7 separate regions of the Homo sapiens genome follow, and all the other regions are linked to region 4. The links are contacts of gene promoters, found by promoter capture Hi-C in blood cells and fetal thymus (Javierre and others, 2016). All regions are on one chromosome and are shown on one strand. Each heading gives the region's core, a stretch centred on a gene start or on the middle of the fragment in contact. The rest is flanking DNA. Distances are from core to core; before and after follow the strand shown.

Evidence for each region. Contacts are between HindIII fragments. The CHiCAGO score rates a contact against its expected background, and 5 or more counts as called.
Region 1: a contact is called between a fragment that was not itself captured here and the fragment with the promoter of MAP4K3 in region 4, in 2 of 17 cell types (naive B cells and total B cells). The highest score is 6.5, in naive B cells.
Region 2: a fragment that was not itself captured here is called in contact with the fragment with the promoter of MAP4K3 in region 4 in 1 of 17 cell types (naive B cells); the score reaches 5.5 in naive B cells.
Region 3: a fragment that was not itself captured here is called in contact with the fragment with the promoter of MAP4K3 in region 4 in 2 of 17 cell types (naive B cells and total B cells); the score reaches 10.5 in naive B cells.
Region 5: a fragment that was not itself captured here is called in contact with the fragment with the promoter of MAP4K3 in region 4 in 1 of 17 cell types (naive CD4 T cells); the score reaches 5.3 in naive CD4 T cells.
Region 6: a contact is called between a fragment that was not itself captured here and the fragment with the promoter of MAP4K3 in region 4, in 1 of 17 cell types (naive B cells). The highest score is 5.0, in naive B cells.
Region 7: a fragment that was not itself captured here is called in contact with the fragment with the promoter of MAP4K3 in region 4 in 1 of 17 cell types (total B cells); the score reaches 5.0 in total B cells.

Annotation. Positions count from the first base shown.
Region 1 is chr2:39,597,805-39,600,504 of GRCh38, reverse strand. It overlaps MAP4K3-DT (MAP4K3 divergent transcript), which reads right to left. Exons shown (of 6, transcript NR_037875.1): 6 at 1-1,139. Among named protein-coding and RNA genes, the nearest start is that of TMEM178A, 67 kb to the left of the region's middle. The HindIII fragment of the contact is 2,251 bases long and covers 295-2,545 here.
Region 2 is chr2:39,676,206-39,678,959 of GRCh38, reverse strand. All of the region lies in intron 1 of TMEM178A (transmembrane protein 178A), which reads right to left. Among named protein-coding and RNA genes, the nearest start is that of TMEM178A, 12 kb to the right of the region's middle. The HindIII fragment of the contact is 2,157 bases long and covers 195-2,351 here.
Region 3 is chr2:39,659,391-39,662,093 of GRCh38, reverse strand. No RefSeq gene overlaps it. Among named protein-coding and RNA genes, the nearest start is that of TMEM178A, 5.2 kb to the left of the region's middle. The HindIII fragment of the contact is 6,363 bases long and covers 1-2,703 here.
Region 4 is chr2:39,435,978-39,438,738 of GRCh38, reverse strand. MAP4K3 (mitogen-activated protein kinase kinase kinase kinase 3) reads left to right here and starts at 1,454. Exons shown (of 34, transcript NM_003618.4): 1 at 1,454-1,847. The coding sequence starts at 1,752. MAP4K3-DT (MAP4K3 divergent transcript) reads right to left here and starts at 1,323. Exons shown (of 6, transcript NR_037875.1): 1 at 1,204-1,323. RefSeq lists silencers at 1,201-1,420, 1,491-1,850 and an enhancer at 2,181-2,260. The HindIII fragment of the contact is 5,405 bases long and covers 478-2,761 here.
Region 5 is chr2:39,216,942-39,219,720 of GRCh38, reverse strand. The region is part of intron 3 of CDKL4 (cyclin dependent kinase like 4); the gene reads left to right. Among named protein-coding and RNA genes, the nearest start is that of CDKL4, 26 kb to the left of the region's middle. The HindIII fragment of the contact is 1,661 bases long and covers 580-2,240 here.
Region 6 is chr2:39,640,887-39,643,586 of GRCh38, reverse strand. No RefSeq gene overlaps it. Among named protein-coding and RNA genes, the nearest start is that of TMEM178A, 24 kb to the left of the region's middle. The HindIII fragment of the contact is 5,699 bases long and covers 1-2,700 here.
Region 7 is chr2:39,617,568-39,620,313 of GRCh38, reverse strand. No RefSeq gene overlaps it. Among named protein-coding and RNA genes, the nearest start is that of TMEM178A, 47 kb to the left of the region's middle. The HindIII fragment of the contact is 6,580 bases long and covers 1-2,746 here.

The DNA of each region.
Region 1 (2,700 bases), core at 171-2,670, 160 kb before region 4:
CCCCATTCCAAGCCTACTGAGAACTGGGTGGGACCTGGACACAATGTATTTTCCAAAAGCACTATAAATGATCCCAATGCACAGCCAGGTAAGAACCATTGTTCTAGATATTTGATTCTCAAAGTGTGGTCCCCAGATGGGCAGTGTCAGCCCTGGGAGTCTGTTAGAAATGCATCATCTCAGAAGCTATATTTTAACAGGAGCCCCAGGAGATTCAAATGCACATTGAAGTTTGAGAAACACTGCTCTAGAAAGGATACAGCAACAGGCCTAGATTTTGTGGGGCCTAAAGCTTACATAATCTGGGGAGTCCTTTTTACTGAAAAATATACAAAATTACAAACAAAGATGGAGTACAAATTTAATATTTACTTACAATGAAGTAATAAATCCTGATTAAATACAAAATTTTAAAAGCCGAAAAGTACCATAAACATCACAAAATTCTGGAGGAAAAAAGGAAAAAACGCATTTATTCATGAGCTGCCTAATGCACGTCTATATTTTTGTAAATTTTTAGCTATTTCTTTGCATGATAAAAAAAATTTCTATGATCTTTCTATAGAGAGATGAGAATTAATTCAGTCAGCTAGAAATTTGTGTTTTATTCTTGGTAATCTAGAAGAGCTTTTTTTTTTCAACTTTCAACTCATTATAATATCATGTAAAATTTTTTAGAATTTGGTCCAGTTAGGATAAGTTCCATCCAATGTCTTTCATGGGAGCTGTAAGAGTCATGGCATTTCATGGTTCTCATCCAGTGGCTAATTTTAAATGCCCTTGGAATCAAGGACAGTCAGACATCCTTGTGCAGAGCATTACTTTCATGTTTCTTCTCCTCTTCTGTTCTGTGCCCCAGAGTGTCCCAATTCACATAAATTTCTTTACCTCTTCTGTTATTGTTTTACCTACATTTTCTTTGCTCTTGTGATTCTGAGTTTTTGTTTGTTTTTTATTTGTTTTTTGTCTTTATGAGTGTGACCATCAGAGTTTTTATCTTCTCTTATGAAAAAAGAGAGTTCTCAACATTTTGAAGTCTCTGCTAGTTCCTAAAAGTTCCTTCTTTTCGTTAGATCTTCAGTTTCCAGTAGGTTCCAGCCTTCCCTTCACATTTGAGTTTTACAGTATGATCAACCACTCTGAAAATAAAAACAAAATTCATCTGAAATTAAGGCATAAACAAGAACAAGTAAAACACATTTTAGGCCGGGCACAGTGGCTCTCGCCTATAATCCCAGCACTTTGGGAGGCTGAGGCAGGTGGATCATGAGGTCAGGAGTTCAAGACCAGCCTGGCCAATATGGTGAAACCCCATCTCTGTGAAAACTACAAAGATTAGCCAGGCATGGTGGCAGGCACCTGTAATCCCAGCTACACAGGAGGCTGAGGCAGAAGAATCACTTGAACCCAGGCGGCAAAGATTACAGTAAGCCGAGATCGCACCACTGCACTCCAGCCTGGGTGACAGAGTGAGACTATGTCTCAAAGAAAAAAAAAAGAAAAGAAAAGAAAAGAAAAAAGACACATTTTAAAATTGTAAATATAATATATTGTATTTGAATATAACATAATACAAATATATTGAGCTACATAATAGTAGGATCAAATTACCCTTATACTACATCTATTGCTGCCATACTGATGAACATAGGAGTTCTGTCGCTAGAACCCTTGTTTCTTCGGGACTTTCTGTTTCATTGTGTCAAAATTGCATGCCATTTCATCTAAAATTCCCAGAATTTGTCAAGAGAAGATGCATCAAATATACTAAGACATTTTGAGATACATAAAACCTGAAACAGCACACACAGACTGACTGTTCATCATATTATTAAAGATTTTTGTCCTTACAAACACAAGAATTCTGGTGGATTCTATTCTGAGCAATTACCATAAACAATTAAGAGTGTGTTTATAATTGTGTATGTTGCATTACTGCATATATTCCTTACGGAAGAATATTTCCATTTTGTTTAGTCATCATTGTGAACTGAATGTCTGATGATTGGAAGAATTTTCCACAGATTTGCTTCTGGCTCTATCCATTTCAAATCTTGTTTCTCTTCCACTCCCCACATGCTCCTAGTGCCAGGTATTGTAGGACAAGTACCTACTCCCATAATACCCTGCACCTTCATGCCACAGTGCTGGGGAAGCCTGCACAGTGGGCAGTAGAAATATTCCTGGAAGCCATACCTATACTAGGATGGCTAGCAACAGTGTAACTGTATACAGAGTAGCTATAAACTACAAAATATATACCCACCAACCCCAAACCAACACATCCCCAACTCAGTTTGCCTTCCAAAATAGACATAGCCCCAACTTCATTCCAAAAATGTCTGCTGTCACTTTCAGGCCTACCTGCACCTGAAGATTTGTGATGAGGAGGAGGGAGTGGAAAGAGACAGCTGTCTTAACCAATTTCAGTAAAAAATATCTTACTTTTGAAACTTTGCAAAAATATATGACCATGTAAAAGACATTGATGGGGCCTCTCTCGGGGCTTTTGGAAGGAGTTGAGCAAGTAAAGAGCCCTGAAGCTTCAGCTTCATTAAAGTCACAGTAAATCTGTCTCTGCAGACGAGCATGTGGAATCAAAGTGATGGAGCAGAGAAACACCTTCAGAGATCATATAGTACAACACTCGATATAAAGATGGGGAAACCTGAGGCCCTCAGAGGTTATGGGACTTCCTCG
Region 2 (2,754 bases), core at 24-2,523, 240 kb before region 4:
GTAGATGCTGTCCAGATGGACAAGAGAGGATGGTATTCAGGCAGAGGAAGCAGTATTCACAATGACACAGAGATACGAAAGTGCATGTGTATTGAAGGACTAGAAAATGGTCTTATGTGACTTGATCCTAGATTTCATGCAGAAGTAGCTGGGTATATAACCAGAAAGGCAGCTGGAGCCACAAGGTAAAAGCTTTTTTATGACCTGCTAAATTCAGACTTGTAGCTGTAGGCAGTGGGAAATTATCAGAGATTTGGGGTTTTTTTGTTTACATCTTAACTAAAGTGTACGATTTAGTGACATTTAGTACATTGTGCAATCACTCCCAATATCTATTTCCAGAACATTTTCACAAACCTAAAAGAAAATCACTTACCCATTAAGCAGTCACTCCCTATTATCCCCTCCCTGTTTTCTGTCTCTGTGGGTTTGCCTAATCTGTATATTTCATAAATAAAATCATACAACTTATGGCCTTTGGTGTCTGACTTCTTTCACCGAGCATAGTGTTTTTAAGGTCCATCCATGTTGTAACGTGTGTCAGTATTTCATTCCTTTTTATGGCTGAATAATGTTCCATTGTATGGACATACCACATTTTCTTATCTATTCATCAGTTGATGGACATTTGGATTGTTTCCATATTTTGGCTATTGCAAATAGTGCTGTTGTGAACATTTATGTACAGTGTTTTTGTCTGAGTATCTGTTTTCAACTTTTGGGGGTATATACCTACTAGTGGAATTGCTGGGATATTTGGTTCTTCTATGTTTAACTTATTAAGGAATCTATCCGATATTTTTACTTAAAGGAAAGACATAACATTGTATTTTAGAAAGCTAAATGTACCTAATGGATATTTAAGGAAACAAGATCTATGGAGATGGTTCCCTGAAGATCCACCAAATAGTTGCTCATCTGTTCCTTCCTGCCTTCCTTCTTGGGCTTCCTATCTCCTTTCCTTTCTCTCCTGCCTGCTTGCTTGCTTTTTTTTTTTCTTGTCGAACCTACAAGTTGGCATGCAATATGGTGGTCCAAATATATGCCCACCCACATACCTTGTGGCTTTACACCATCTTCTGAGGCTTCTGTGCTAAAATCCTGCTAGCTCAGCCCATCTGTAACAGTTCAGATTGTTTTCTTGCTTCATAATTCCTGCTCTGAGGAAGTATCAAGCTGTAATAAATAGGTCTCTCGGTGTCGAACGAGAGGTCCAAGAGGAGCCTAGCACAGGAAACCTGAGGTTTGCTGGAAAGGTTTTGACTTGAACATTCCTGCTGAGATGACCAGGGTCCATCCCACTCCTCCAAACACAGAAACATATACTGCTGAACAACTGCTTCCTCCCCAGGTCTTCCAGCTTGTCATTTCAAAAGCAGATGATACTTCACAGAAATTTCAAAGATAATGAAAGCCCAATACAGACATGAGTTAAGTGGCTTTTCTTCAAATTAGAATTGTTTAATTTCTAATTTTGAACACGCGCCACTATCAACACACCAGGACACTGGCAATAGCAAGGAGTGATTTGCTAATTTTCTTGTTCAAAGTTATTATATTTATAGATGCACTGGGAAGTTGTAATCATGGTCACTCAGTTGCCAGTCAAAGGATAGAAATGAAATATGTTGTTGTTGTTTTCCTCCAAGAAATCAAGAAGTTAAAAAAAGTCATAGCCTGGCTTGAACAGATTCTATAAATGAACCTGGTTTGAGGAGTGGGGGTGAAGGGAGATATTCAGAAAAATGCTCTCCATGAAGCTCTTCTTGGGAGGCACTGAACATCCAGGGGTGGGGGAATGGGGACGAGAGTGAGGACAAAGGCTGTACATAGGAAGCACTGAAGCACCAAGCTCTCCAATCCAATGTGTATTAAATTCATAGCAACTGCACCTTCTGATCTTAAAGTACATTAATATTCCCTAGAATGCACAATTTTGAACATTTACCTTCAATTTTAAAAGTGCAATTATAAATAAGCCTCCTTAGAACCAACCATGCCATCTCTGAATCTCTAGAGATTAAAGAGACTCAAACAGCTCTTCAAACAGAAAAGCACAGGGCTTTCAGGGCACTTCCATGTGTCTATTAGGGCAGTATGTGGAGAAAGTGGTAGATCTGGAAAAGCTGGAAGAAAATCTGAGTTCTCTTCTCAGTCTTCTCCTACTATGGAATGACCATAGGCAGGATGGGACTGCCGCCTGAACACACCTGCTGCTTCAGGCTCTATCTTGTGTGGCTCTCTGGAACCCCTCTTCCGTGGCTGACCAAAGCCAGATTTTGTTCAGGTGTCAGCCAGCCAAGTGCTTCCTGGGGAGCCTGGGCCCTTTCTCCAGCCCCAGGGCTGAAGCTTGATTGGTCTAAGAAAATCATGGTCCATTCCACTTGCCCGGGATTGCTTTAAGAATGGTCACGTGACATAATTCTAGCCAATGAGACCGGTGGGAAGTCTGCAGGACGCCTTCTGGGAAATTACATTTATTGTAAAAGAAGACATCGGAAAATGGGGACTGGCTTCTTCCGTTTCCTAGCTCACTCACAGAATTCACAACTAGCAACTCACAGAACTGTCATGACCAGGTAGAGACATGGCTCAAGACAAAACTGCCTACCTTGGGTCTGCTAAAGCCCAAAACCATTGAATCTCTTTAATTAACTAGCCACATGCAGGCTTTCTCCAAACGTCCTGTTACACAAGATAATACGTTTTCCTTGTAGGCTAAGCCATTTTTATTTGGGTATTCTATTATTTGGC
Region 3 (2,703 bases), core at 41-2,540, 220 kb before region 4:
TCACAACTGATGTGCAGGTCATGTTTAAATATTTAGAAAACAAAATACTTTTGCCTTCTCCAAACGCACTTACCATAATATCTATGACATTCATCATATTTCTCTCTATAGTCAGGAAATTCTTTAAATAAATATTTCCTAAGAAAAAAGGTCCATGGACACACACACACACACACAGAGTGAGAGAGAGAGAGATCTCAAACACAGAGCTATGGTAATGCTTTGTTGACATACCTGTGCTAAGCTAACCATCCTAACCATGCATATTCTAAAAGATTTTCACCCTGTTGCACCAGTGCTAAGATTAAAAGCAACATCTTTCCTCATTTCAAACGTTTAGATTCTGCAGTTTAAACTATGAATTTTAACCAAAACTACACACTAGGTTTCATAAAGAGTGTGAAAGTTTCCTCTTGGTAGTATCAGATTTTTTTCAGCATTCAATATAAGCATACAGTCAATTATATTGTTAACCTACAAATATATACAATATATACAAAACGTGCATTTTGCACATTTTTGAAGTATCTTATGTTAAAGTCATCACTCTAACTTTTTCTCCTAAAACAATTTTATTTTAATTCAACAGCATATATTGAGCACCTTCAATGTAAGTTATTGTGCAAAGTCCCACTGGATTTTGTAAAGATGAAGAAAACACGGCCTGTGCCCTGAGGGAGCTTTAAGGTAGTTGGTAAGGAAGATAGAAATGCATGAAGCCACAAAGAAGAACTGCCTGAAACTAGTACTGTCACCAAGGTACAAAACAATGCAACAGGAAAACCTACTACAGAGAGATTCCTTTCTCCATTGGGAAGAATATGGGTAAGCCAAGATGCTGTCTCAGTTAGGCCTTGGAGGAAAAGGAGTATTTTCTGTATGTGTGTCAACTCAGTCCAGGGCAAAGCCAAAAGTAAATTTTAGAAGCAGCACCTACCATAGTGCTCTGCTATACCCCACGCATGTGGTAAGTCATCTTGGCAGTGCCATTTTGTCACTGACTAGAAGCCTGGAACCATAAAATACCACAAAACCCCCAAAATAGACAGTGCCTGATAAGTTTCTCATTTCACTGACACACCGCAGAATGTCACCATTCTTTTTCACATTCCTGGATTAAGCTGTTTCCTTTTTGGAGCCTTTAAGCACATATGGTGGGAAAGGAAAAAAAAAAAAAGTTCAAAGAAACCCATAACCATGTTAAGTCCCACTTAAAGTGTGATGTTTCAGCAGATGGTGGCTCATTAATTGCCACACCTAACTGTACTCACCACCTTTTCTTTGTGTATGGATACTGGGTTTTGAAGTTGGGGTCTAATTCAGTTCATTTGGGCCATGTTTGACAAATAAGGCAGAATTGGATATAACTAAGATATCCGGTGTCTCTGATTCACAGCCACCTGTGATACTGCCCAGATGAACAAAAAAACCAGTATTTCCAGCTGTCTTTCCTCTTTTCTACCTTCAAACTTCTCTCTCTGCTGTGTCTGCTCAAAGGCACCAGGATCTGGGGAATGCACATGGGTACTGGGGTCAAACCACGTGTAAATTCTACCCACTTCTTTCTACCTATTCACCCTTAGCCAGCGACCTAATTTCCCAAACCACCTGAGTTCTGAAAAATAGGGATATCACCATCTATCTCACAGGATGCATGATTCATGGTTATCACATGCTGAATACATTCCTCCCACTCTCTTATCCTCCCTACTCCATCCATGTAAACACATAAACATGCTTCAGAAATTCCATAGGTCTATCATATTAAGACCATATAATTTAAATGTTATAAATACAAATGGCTAAAACGTTAATGACACATTATTTTTCTCATTAGTTATTTATAGTATTCAAATAAGAGAAACAATCTATACTCATTTATTCCATTAACATTATTGAGCACCCATGGGCCAGAGAAAGAGCATTCCAGGCAGAGTAAACAGCCAGTGCAAGGGTCCTGAGGCATGAAAGAGCTTTGAGGAACTGCAAAGAGACCTAGAGAGTAGTGAATGAGGAAGGGGTAGTATGAGATGAAATTGCAGATATATGCAATGCTAGATTATGCAGGCCTTGAAGGCCAAACTATGGAGTTTGGACTTCAGTCCAAAGAAAAACTTTGAAGAGTTTTAAGCAGGGGAGAGGCATTGATTATTGTTTTGCAATGTCACTCAGACAGCTGTGTGAAAAATGGATTGAAGCTGGGGGTAGCAAGTGTGAAGGCAGGGAAGCCAGTCAGGAAGCTATTGCAATCATGCAGACAAGAAATATTAGTAACTTGGACTAAGGAGGCAGCAGTGGAAACAGAGAGAAATGGGTAAAGGTCAAAATCATAGAAATACATGGATGGCGCTGGAGGCCATTATCCTTAGCAAACTAACACAGTAACAGAAAACCAAATACTGCATGTTCTCACTTATAAGTGGGAGCCAAATGGTGAGAACTCGTGGACCCAAAGAAAGGAACAACAGACACTGGGGCTTACTTGAGTGGGGAGGATGGAAGGAGGGAGAGGAGCAGAAAAAGTAACTGTTGGGTATTAGGCTTAGTACCTGGGTGATGAAATAATCCGTACAATAAACCCCGTGAAATGAGTTTACCTATATGACAAACCTGCACATGTACCCCCAAACCTAAAATAAAAGTTAAAAATAAAAATGAATTTTTAAAAATTACTGCGAGTGCAGATGAGGGAAAGAAGCGATC
Region 4 (2,761 bases), core at 205-2,704:
GTGATACTTTCATATTACTGATGCTTTAAAATTTAATAATTAAAAATTACACAACTGAAAGGCTACTTATATAGGTGAAGAGATAACCATTTTCAAACATCAATTTAGTCAACAGATACTCAAAGTAAACAATTTGAGAATTTAGTACATATGCAATTTTCCTATGAGCAAAAGGATTCAAAAGATTTTTTGAAAAAGTATGAAGCAGTTAACTCTAAGTAGTTTGCTCTACTATTAATTTATTATACTTATCCTTAACAGGTTTGATGAGACCTAGTTTCTCAGGAGCCACGAGGTATTAGGGAATATTAGTGGTTAGAAGGTGTGGTGCCTAAGGGGATTAGGAAAGCATTTCTGAAGCAAAACTCCAACGTGGTATTGCCAAAGTGGCCATCACCTAATTGATTAAAGCTCCTGCAAATGTCTATTGGGAAGTTCAATGAGAACAGAAAAATAACCTTCCATTACCCTCAAGCTTTCTTGGGCAAGTATTAACAATCGGAGCTGGAGTCCACATAGCTCAGATGTAAGACGCGCAATCTGGGTCTTAAGCAGGGTGGGGTTTTTGGGTAGGTAAGGTCACAGCTAAAGAGCTTCCGGATCGTCACGTGTTTATATTTCAGGTGCGGTAATAGATCTAGTCCACTCTCCACCCCTTCTTTACAGGGTTGCTTGACAGCCTGCGCAGTCCCCGCCCGTCTTTGATAATCCAACCCTCTTCGAAGAGGGAGGTCAATCACTGCTTTAGTTCTGCGCTCTGCCTGCCTCCCACGCGGGATGGTGGGCAGCTGTTCCGCGTGTTTTCCTCCCGGAGCTTTCACGCTCTGCCCACTGCACACACCTCCCTCGCGGCCCTCCTGGCCTGCCCTCCTTTGCACCCTGGCAGGCCAACTCCAAGGGTCCGAGTGTCGGTGACAGGGGCAAGCAAGCACAGCTCACTTTTCCTGGGGGTTTTCCTCACGGTGTGTTTAGTGACCCCTCCCCGCAATCCCAGAAAGGCTGCAGCACTCCATGGTATCCTACATGTAGCTGCTTCTAAAATAATAAAGGCTGGGACATTGGCTGTCTTGGATATTACCACTATGCTACCTGCTTGGAACTGGGACCAGATAGACCAAGGTCCAACTTTGTCGTTAGGGGAATCAGAAACGAAAAGAAGCCACTTTCTGCTAGTCCTAACCCCGGTCCCTGGGCCAGGCAAACCTTTTCAAGCGTCCGGCGGCAGCGGCCGGGCGCGGGTCCGCAGAAAAGCCGAGGCGTTTCGGGTCCCAAGCTGTTCCGCCGCCGGCCCCGGCCTGGCAGGCGCGCGGAGCCGGAACGCGCAAGGGGTCGGGTGCGCGCCAGGCCTGGCGCGCTCCCTCCGGGATCGCGGCTGCGCAGTCGGGCGGGAGTCGGGAAAAGGGGAGGAGGTTGGAGGAGCCGGAGTAAGGGGAGGGGGAGGAGCGGCGAAAGCGGAAGCCATGTTGGAGTTTCACCCCGAGCGAGGGGCTGCGAGGGTTCTCCTCTCCTTGTGGGTGTGACCAGGTTCGGCGCGGCGGCGGGCCGCGGGGGGCGGGGACGATTGGCCGCTTGTCGTCGTCCGCAGCGGCGTGAGGGGAGCGGCGGCGGCGGCGGCGGCCGCAGCGTGGAGCCGGGTGATTGTGACCGCCGGGGGAGCCGGGAGCCGGCCGCGGCGCCCTCTCTCCGTGTGGCCCCCTGAGCGGCCCCCCTCCCCTGCCCGGGAGGGAGGCGGGGGGCACCTGGGGCCCGCCATGAACCCCGGCTTCGATTTGTCCCGCCGGAACCCGCAGGAGGACTTCGAGCTGATTCAGCGCATCGGCAGCGGCACCTACGGCGACGTCTACAAGGTAAAGGCAGGGGCCGCGCGCCGCCGAGGCCGTGGGATCCCGACCCGCAGCCAAGCCTGGGCGTCCGAGCCCTTGCCGCCTGTCCTCGGGAGACGCTGGCGCCAGGGAGCAGTCGGGGAGGAGGAGCTGCGGACGCCAAGGGCTCTGCTGCCTTGGTGAACAAAGGGCCGAATGTTTAACCCCGAGACCTCCCCAGCCCTTACCTGAGCCCCCCCGGTGGACATGATTTTTGCCACCTCCCTTCTTGCGCGCATTTCCAGGGAAGGGCAGAACGAGAGCAGGCCACACTGCTCATCCATAGTGCAGAGAAGGTCTGGGCGTTTGTTGCGTTGGCAGGGTCAGCGCGACGAACCGGACAGCAGGGGTCTGGTGTTGTCAAACCTGCCTGCTTCACGCCAACCTGGGGTCGTCCGCTCTAGGTTGGGAGCTGCTGCCCACCAGGCCTCGGTGGTAGTTATTATACTATGCTGAGCGACCTCCATCTTCCATCGACAGCTCTCAGCCTTTAGCGCCTTATTCATCCCCCTGTCAGTTTCTTTTAATTTTCCAGAGTAATGACTTTTTTTTTTTTTTGGAAAGAGCAACTTTGTTTTCTCTAAGTCGAATTGGACTGCGATGCCATTTAAACTTGTTTTTTAAAAAGTGACTTGAATACTTAGGGAAGGTACTGGTTTGACAAGGTTAGAATTCAAAGTCCAGTAGCGGTACAGCATTCCTGTTGTAGAGGGACCACTTCTAAATGTGGGAAGATAAATCACTCTTCCCTGGCCAACTCAACTCTTGGCCTCACAGTTACTGCCAAGAAGAGAGGAGGTTGTTGCCAAATGTGGCAGCAGTCTTGATTTAGTTGTGTATCTTCTTACTGGTAACTGAAGTTGAACTCCTCCAGTTTCACATAACACCTGAGGATGCAC
Region 5 (2,779 bases), core at 161-2,660, 220 kb after region 4:
GGCCAAGAACAGTGGCTCCTACCTGTAATCCCAGCACTCTGGGAGGCCGAGGCAGGCAGATTGCTTGAGGTCAGGAGTTCAAGACCACTCTGGGCAACAGGGTGAAATCCCGTTTCTACTAAAATACAAAAAATTAGCCAGGTGTGGTGGCAGGCACCTGTAGTCCCACCTACTCAGGAGGCTAAGGCAGGAGAATTGCTTGAACCCAGAATGCAGAGGTTGCAGTGAGCCAAGATCATGCCATTGCACTCCAGCCTGAGTGACAGAGCGAGACTCTGTCTCAAAAAAATAAATAAATAAATAAATAAATAAATAAGTACCTGTTTCATTACTGAGTGGCCATCTGCCAGCATCCCAGCCATTAATGGTAATTAGATGCTGCCCTTCCGTCCTCATTACATCAGATATCCAATCCTAGATTCTCACAGCCTTGGATTGTTTCCCACATCCACTTCTTTTACCATGTCCTGAATTGGTCAGGATTCAACAACAGAATTCACTCTAGCTAGTTCAGAGAGAAAGAGATTTGTCACAGGGTTTTAGTTTATAAAATTTCTGGGAGTGCCAGAGAAACAAGCTTAATTGAGCTCCTATTAGGTACCAGGTCCTGTTCTAGGTGCTGGGGCTATAATAACGGACAAGAGAAAGTCCTTGCCCTTGTGCAATTTACATTCTGATGTAGTCCAACAATAAAGAAGAGTTATGAGTCTTTGAAGAAAAATAAAGCACAGTGTGGAGTTAGAGAATGCCCAGGAGGTGTATTAGTCAAGGTTCTTCAGAGAAACAAAACCAGTGGGATACATAGAGGTACTGATAACAGGAAATTTATTATTGGTATTGACTCATGTGATTATGGAGGGAGAGAAGTTCCACAATCTGCCATCTGCAAGCTAGAGAACCAGGAAAGCCGATGGTCTAATTCAGGCCAAGTCCTAAGGCCCCAGAGGACAGAGAGTTTCAAAGTCCAAAGGCCTGAGAGCCAGGAGCTTCCACATCCAAGGGCAGGAGAAGATGGACGTCCCAGCTCAAGGAGAGAGAAGCAGCCCTTCCCCTACCGTTTTGTTGTATCCAGGCCTTCAACGGGTTTGATGATGCCTGCCTGCCTGCCCTCACCTTTGTGGGTGGGTCTTCTTTACGCGGTCTACTGATTCAAATGTGAATCCCTTCCAGAAACACCCTCACAGACACACCCACAAATGATGTTTTGGGTTTTTTTTGTTTTTTGAGAGAAGGTCTCATTCACTTGTCTCACTCTCTGCAGTGGCCTGAACATGGCTCACTGCAGCCTCAAACTCCCAAACTCAAGCAAATCCTGCCTCAGTCTCCTGAGCAGCTGGGACCACAGACACTCACCATTATGTCTGGCTAATTTTTAAACTTTGAGTAGAGGTAGGGTCTTGCCATGTGGCCCAGGCTGGTCTCAAACTCCTGTGCTCAAGCAATCCTCCTGCCTCAGCCTCCCAAAGTGCTGGGATTACAGGCATGAGCCACTGCACCTGGCAGAAATAATGTTTTAGCAGCTATCTGGTCATCCCTTAACCTAGTCAAGTTAACACAGAAAATTACTCATAACTAAAAGGAAGTAGAAGGAACAATAAACTGTTAATAGAAGTAGAAATAGAAGTAAACATAGAAATAGAAGTAAAATGTTATTAACAGCCTGATTGAAAGTATAAATAAGCCTTGGGGGCCAGGCGCAGTGGCTCACGCCTGTAATCCCAACACTTTGGGAGGCCGAGGCAGGCAGATCACCTGAGGTCAGGAGTTCAAGACCAGCCTGACCAACATGAAGAAACCCCATCTTTACTAAAAATACAAAGTTAGCTGAGTGTGATGGCACATGCCTGTAATCCCAGCTACTTGGGAGGCTGAGGCAGGAGAATCGCTTGAACCCAGGAGGCGGAGGTTGCGGCGAGCGGAGATTATGCCATTGCACTCCAGCCTGGGCAACAAGAGCGAAACTCTATCTCAAAAAATAAATAAATAAATAAATAAATAAATAAATAAATAAATAAATAATAAAATAAGCCTGGCATGTTCAGAGAATAGCAGAAAATAATGGGCTGGGATGGAGTGACTTTAGGGATGTGATAGGAGATAAAGTTGGGAAGGGAAATGGAAGTAAAATGTTATTAACAGCCTTGTAGGCCATAGTAACAAGGCTGGATTTTATTCTAGGATAGTAAAGATTTACTGAGAAGGACTGAATTCATCTTGGGTAATAATAATGAAATCAAGCTTCCCCTATTACGTTTTTATAACAAACTTCCAGGTAATGACTTCTGATTTCAGCATCAGGTCTTCCTCTGAGTGGTTCAAAGAGCATATTCTGAGCAGTTCAGTCTGAATTCCCCCATCATGTTACCCTATCTTGTTAGCCCATTCAGACTTGAACTGTGATGTCTCATGTTTGCTTTAAGGCCTTCATTACGACTTTTAGTATTACTTTCAGTGGCAAGAACCTCGGTTACTTTTGTACCAACCGAATATTTGGTTTTGCACTGGCCCAAAATATAATATTTAAACACTGAGCATCTTTTGATTTCACCAGAGGTTCATTTTGCTCCAAGATGCTTTGAAAAATGCTGCCTGTGGCTGAATGGTGCTGCAGCGCTCTATCTTTCTGGACTGGGCGCCGCGTCGATGTGTACTCTCTTTGATGGTTATCTTCTCTTTGCACGATCTGTGGTGTTGGTTTGTGGTTCTCTTTGATGGCTATCTTCTCTTTGCACGATCAGTGGTGTTGTTTTGCCCCTGACGGAATCTGCCTTCTTGGAAG
Region 6 (2,700 bases), core at 98-2,597, 200 kb before region 4:
GATTCAAACACATTACATTTATTGTGCACTTTATTTCTATCATTATTTCATACTCACCATAACGTAGAATCAGTGGGAGTCCTGAGCTTGTTTTCCTGCAACTAGACGGTACCATCTGGAGGTGATGGGAGACAGTGACAGATCATTAGGCATTATTAGATTCTCATAAGGAGCGTGCAACCTAGATCCCTTGCGTGTGCAGTTCACAATAGGGTTCACGCTCCTATGAGAATCTAATGCCTGCCGCTGATCTGAGCTCAGGCGGTAATGCTGGCCTGCCGCAGGTCACTTCCTACTCTATGGACAGTTCCTAACAGGCCACGGACCAGTACTGGTCCATGGCCTGGGGGTTGGGGACCCCTGTCATAATTTATGACCCCCTCCGATTTATGTTGTTTCCAATTTGTCTTTATTTATTTATTTATTTATTTATTTGAGGCAGGGTCTCACTTTGTCACCCAGGCTGGAGTGCAGTGGCTTGATCATGGCTCACTGCAGCCTCAACCACCTGGGCTCAGGTGATCCTCCCACCTCAGCCTCCCCAGTAGCTGGAACCACAGGTGTGCACCACCATGTCTGGCTAATTTCTGTATTTTTTGTGGAGATGGGGTTTTGCCATGTTGCCCAGGCTGGTCTAAAACTGGGCTCAACTGACCCACCTGCCTCAGCCTCCCAAAGTGCTGGAATTACAGACGTGAGCCACCGCACCCAGCCAATTTGTCATTCTTCTATACCATGCTGTAATTAACTTCTTTGTATGTGTGTATTTGTGGACACTTGAGTATTTCTGTGGAACTGATTTTAGAAGTCAAAGAGTAAACACCTGCGAGAGAGCTCAGAGAACCCAGACTTTGGTGTTTTCACTTTAAGTAACTGTTCTGATTTTCATCATTCTTTTGTCACCAACTATGCCTCTATGCAGACAATCGCACACAAATCCAAGACAGATACAGTATAGATCGTGCAGTTAGGAATGGCACTAGAATAGAACCCATTGTGTGGGTTGGGGAGGGGTTATCTGGCATGCTCTGCAGGGTGACTCAGCCCTCACATCCATTGCCTCTAACCCTGCCAAAATCTGCATTCCTGCTGACAAGCCGCATCTGTGTGTACAATGAAACTTTTGACCCCACCAGCCTAGGGTTGCTTTAAATATACCAGCGAGGTCATGTCACAGTTAGTGTGCATTCATAAATGACTTTGTAATGAATAAAAACAAGAGAAGCTCAAACTTCCACTCTGCAAATATGTCAGACTCAGTCTCCATTTGGAACCAGGGAACATCAATCTCTCACCAGCCAGGCAAGGTTCTGCCCAGCGGGCTGCTCACCACTCTAGCATCTCTCAGCTCCCACAGTCCCAGCCCATGCATCTGAATTCCACCTCCTGGGAAAATGCTGGAACAAATCCCAACTTTCAGAGTTGTCTTTAGCTTCGAGAAAATATTTTCAGGGATCTAGTTGTATTTACTGAACATTCATGGACCAATTCCTAATGTGTCTAATTTTTTAGACCAACTATAATTCACCTGTTACATTTGGGCTTTTGGCTGTGCTATAATTTTCCTAAATTGAAATATTTCTTATGCTCAAAGATCTCCCTGGTGTTCAAAAGCAAAATTGGTTTCCTATAAAAACTTGTCGTCACTGTCATTAATTAACAGAAAGCAGAATGCCTCTGTGTGTTTACCTTCACAAAGTGTATCCATGCAATGCATTTCTTTCCCAGAGGCATAGTTTATTCCTATATACCAGAAATTAAGAGTGCATTAAAAAAATGCATGTCTTTCACCAGCAGGGAAGTTTTGAGAAGGAGACTACTGTATTTCATGAAAGGACACCAGACACAGGGGTGTGAAAATTAAATAGAGCCTCTCTCTATGAGAAAGTAAATTATGTTATATTGTTCACTTTATCTGAGACTACTTTTCTGTGGTTTGATCCAATTTGCCAAAGAATATATGGGCTGATCATTCAACCAGTTATTAGCTATTCATTGGCCAGCTTTGTGGTTGTTTGACTTGGTAGTAATTCAAGGTAGAACATGTGTATGTTTGTGTGTGTGTGTGTGTGTGTGTGTGTGTGAGATTTTATCACTAGTTGTAAATTCAAGGATTCATAGAAAGAGTTTAAAGTTAGAATTCTTTTAAAATGTGATATAAATATATATATGTGTGTGTGCGTATATATATATATATTCCATTGTGTGTGTATACATACATAAAGGAATATTATTCAACCATAAAAAGAAGTAAATTTGCAACAACATGAATGGACCTGGGAAACATTATGCTAAGTGAAATAAGCCAGATGCAGAAAGACAAATACTGCAAGCGCCCACCTGCATGTGGAATCTAAAATAAAACTCACAGAACCAGAGAGTAAAATGGTGATTGCCAAGGGCACAGGGTGAGGGAAGGAGGAGGAAATAGGGAGATGTTTGTCAAAGGGTATAAAGTTTCAGTTAGGTAAGATGAATGGGTCCTGGGGATCTAATGTACATCATGATGTCTGTGTTTAATACTGTAGTGTACACTTTAAATTTGCTAAAATGGTAGATCTTAAGTGTTCTTACCACAAATAAAAAGAAAAAGAGAATGGCAACTATGTGAGGTGATAGACATGCTAGCAGTTTCATTGTGGTAATCGTTTCACAACGTATGCATATATCAAAACATCAAGTTGCACATCTTGAATATGT
Region 7 (2,746 bases), core at 152-2,651, 180 kb before region 4:
TATGAGATTTTTGCCAAAATCCTGCTGCAATGTCTGATAACCACAGCCACCGGCATGACAAATGAAATCTGGCAGTCTGCCATAGGCAGGCGGTGAACTTAAGGGAAGTTGCAAAGAAGGGGTGAGAGAGAAAATTTACTAGATTTTGAGCAGGGAAAAAGTTTTTGCTCAGACAAGACAAACCATGTAAACACAAACTAGACAATAACACAAAGCAGTGTATTATGGGAAGATATACTTTTGATACAGGCTATGAGGAATATAGGAAATCAAGTATTGGTGCTAAATACCATGTATGTATTTTCTCATAAATTTTTTTAAAAGATAATCCTAGTCTGGAAAGTATTTTTAACTACATTTCAATTGCACAAACAAAAAAGAGTGAAGTTTAATTGAGTAGTAGAGAAAGTGCTGGACTGAAAGTCCAGAGATTTAAGATAATATCTTCAAACAAATACTTTAACATTGCTAAACTTTAATTTCCTTACTGGTAAAGAGGGCATCATAATAATATTAAGCTCCGAGGATTTGGGGGAACATTAAATGCCATGATGTTTGTGAAAAAGTCTTACAAATTGCTGGTACTATTCAATCTTCATCATCATTACCATTATTCCTGCTTAGTTCCTACTCAGCAGTGTGACTTTGCCAGCTATAAAATAGTAGTAGAGATTAAGAGATTAGACTAGATTATCCTTAAACTTTCACATTCTCTGCTTATATAAGTTATTATTTCTCTTCAAACTTAACATAAATATATGTTGCAATAGATAAACAATTAAAATGTGTAAGAAGCTGGGTGCGGTGGCTCACGCCTGTAATCCCAGCACTTTGGGAGGCCAAGGCGGGTGGATCATGAGGTCAGGAGTTTGAGACCAGCCTGGCCAGCAGGTGAAACCCCGTCTCTACTAAAAATACAAAAAACAATTAGCTGGGCCTGGTGGCGCATGCCTGTAATCCCAGCTACTGGGAAGGCTGAGGCAAGAGAATTGCTTAAACCCAGGAAGCAGAGGTTGCAGTGAGCCAAGATCACGCCACTGCATTCTAGCCTGGGTGACAGAGCGAGAGTCCGTCTCAAAAAAAAAAAAAAAAAAAAATATGTGTAAGAACACAGCATCCCTATGGCCGGTAAGTGGAGAGAAAGAGAAGTTAAACTAACAAAGAGAAAGACAAAGCTGCCCATGTAATCCCATACATTGTGCATGGCACACGGATCTGTCAGTCATAAGAAAACACTTTGAAATTTGAAAGCAGTGGGGTAAAATTTTGAAAAGAATCATCAGTATGCAGACTGAGCCCAATCACACTCCCATTGAAAGGACAGAGACCAATGATAGAATAACACACCAATGCCACTTCCTCATCTATTTGGTAAACTGCTGATTCTACAAAGTGTGATACAGATGTCTGTCACCTCCTCTGTGAAGCCTTCCCCAAATTGCTCTCAGAGAACTATGTGTATCATAAGCTCACCAAGTTATTGAATGTTTCACACGTCTGTCTACCCTCTAGATTGCTAGATCCTTAAGAATTAGAATAGCATCTTACTCAACTTTATAGCCTAGTAAGCATAGGGTCTGGCACATAAAAGGTGCTCAATAATGCTGGATTGTGAGTTGATTAATTAAGTGAATGTTGAAAACACAAATTACATGATACTTTGGCTGGCTGGCTCTTAAGTCAACAGAAGACTTCTAACTTTAAATAGCATTTCACAGTCCCTCTAAAATTTCTCTTAAAACATCTATGAATATGAAGGGGGAAAAAATAAAAACATACCATTCTGAAAGCTCAGACATTTTCGCAAACCACCATACTAATGGAACTGTGCTAGGAGTGCAGTTTGTAACCCCTTGTGTTATTCTGCCTGAACAGAAAGACAGCCCATCTGAAAAAAGGTACAAAGACCATTCATTTCTCTAAACAATCTGGCTCCCTGGAATAAGAATGCCAGATCTGTTTCAACCCAGAAGAGGGATAGTTGACCTTTACTGGCTAGCTACTGCTTTTGGAAGCTATCAGAATATTATTTTTCATACCTTCTTCAATGGATGAAGATCCAACTTATGAATTATAGGTAAAAGAAACCAAAGCAAATGGAATGGAAACCGTAATCAAAGACATAATGTTTTAAAAATCATGAATTGAAAAATGTCTCAAGTATGCAGATTCAAAGAGCTTACAATATTTCAGATTTTGTGTGTGTGTGTATGTGTGTAAAATACCTGCAGCTAAGTGCATTCTTGGAAGAGATTTAATATGAGTATAAAAAAACTCTTTAAGCATCCAGACAGGAATAGTACATTGCATATAAAGAAGGGAAAGTCAGGCTGCTCTCAGAATTTTCCTTTCTATTATTATATGTCAGAAGGAAATTAAGCAAAATGTACAGAATTTTGAGGGCAAACGTTGTCGTTCAAGATTTCACACCTAGCTCTTATGATTCTTTTAGTTGCAAATACAAGGAAAATCAGTTCAAACTGGCATTAGGGGAAATAAATGAATATATTGGCTCACAAATCTTCCAATGTAAGTTTAGGTACAGCTGGATCCAGGGGCTCAAATAATGTCATTCTCCTGCTCTCTCTTCCTCCCCACCAATCTTGCTTCATCCTGTCTCTGCCTTTCTTTCTATATTTGTCTCATTCTCTCCCACTTAAAGTACATTGACCCTTGAACAACACAAGGGTTAGAGACACTGACTCCTGTGCAGTTGAAAATCCACATATAACTTTTGACTCCCCTA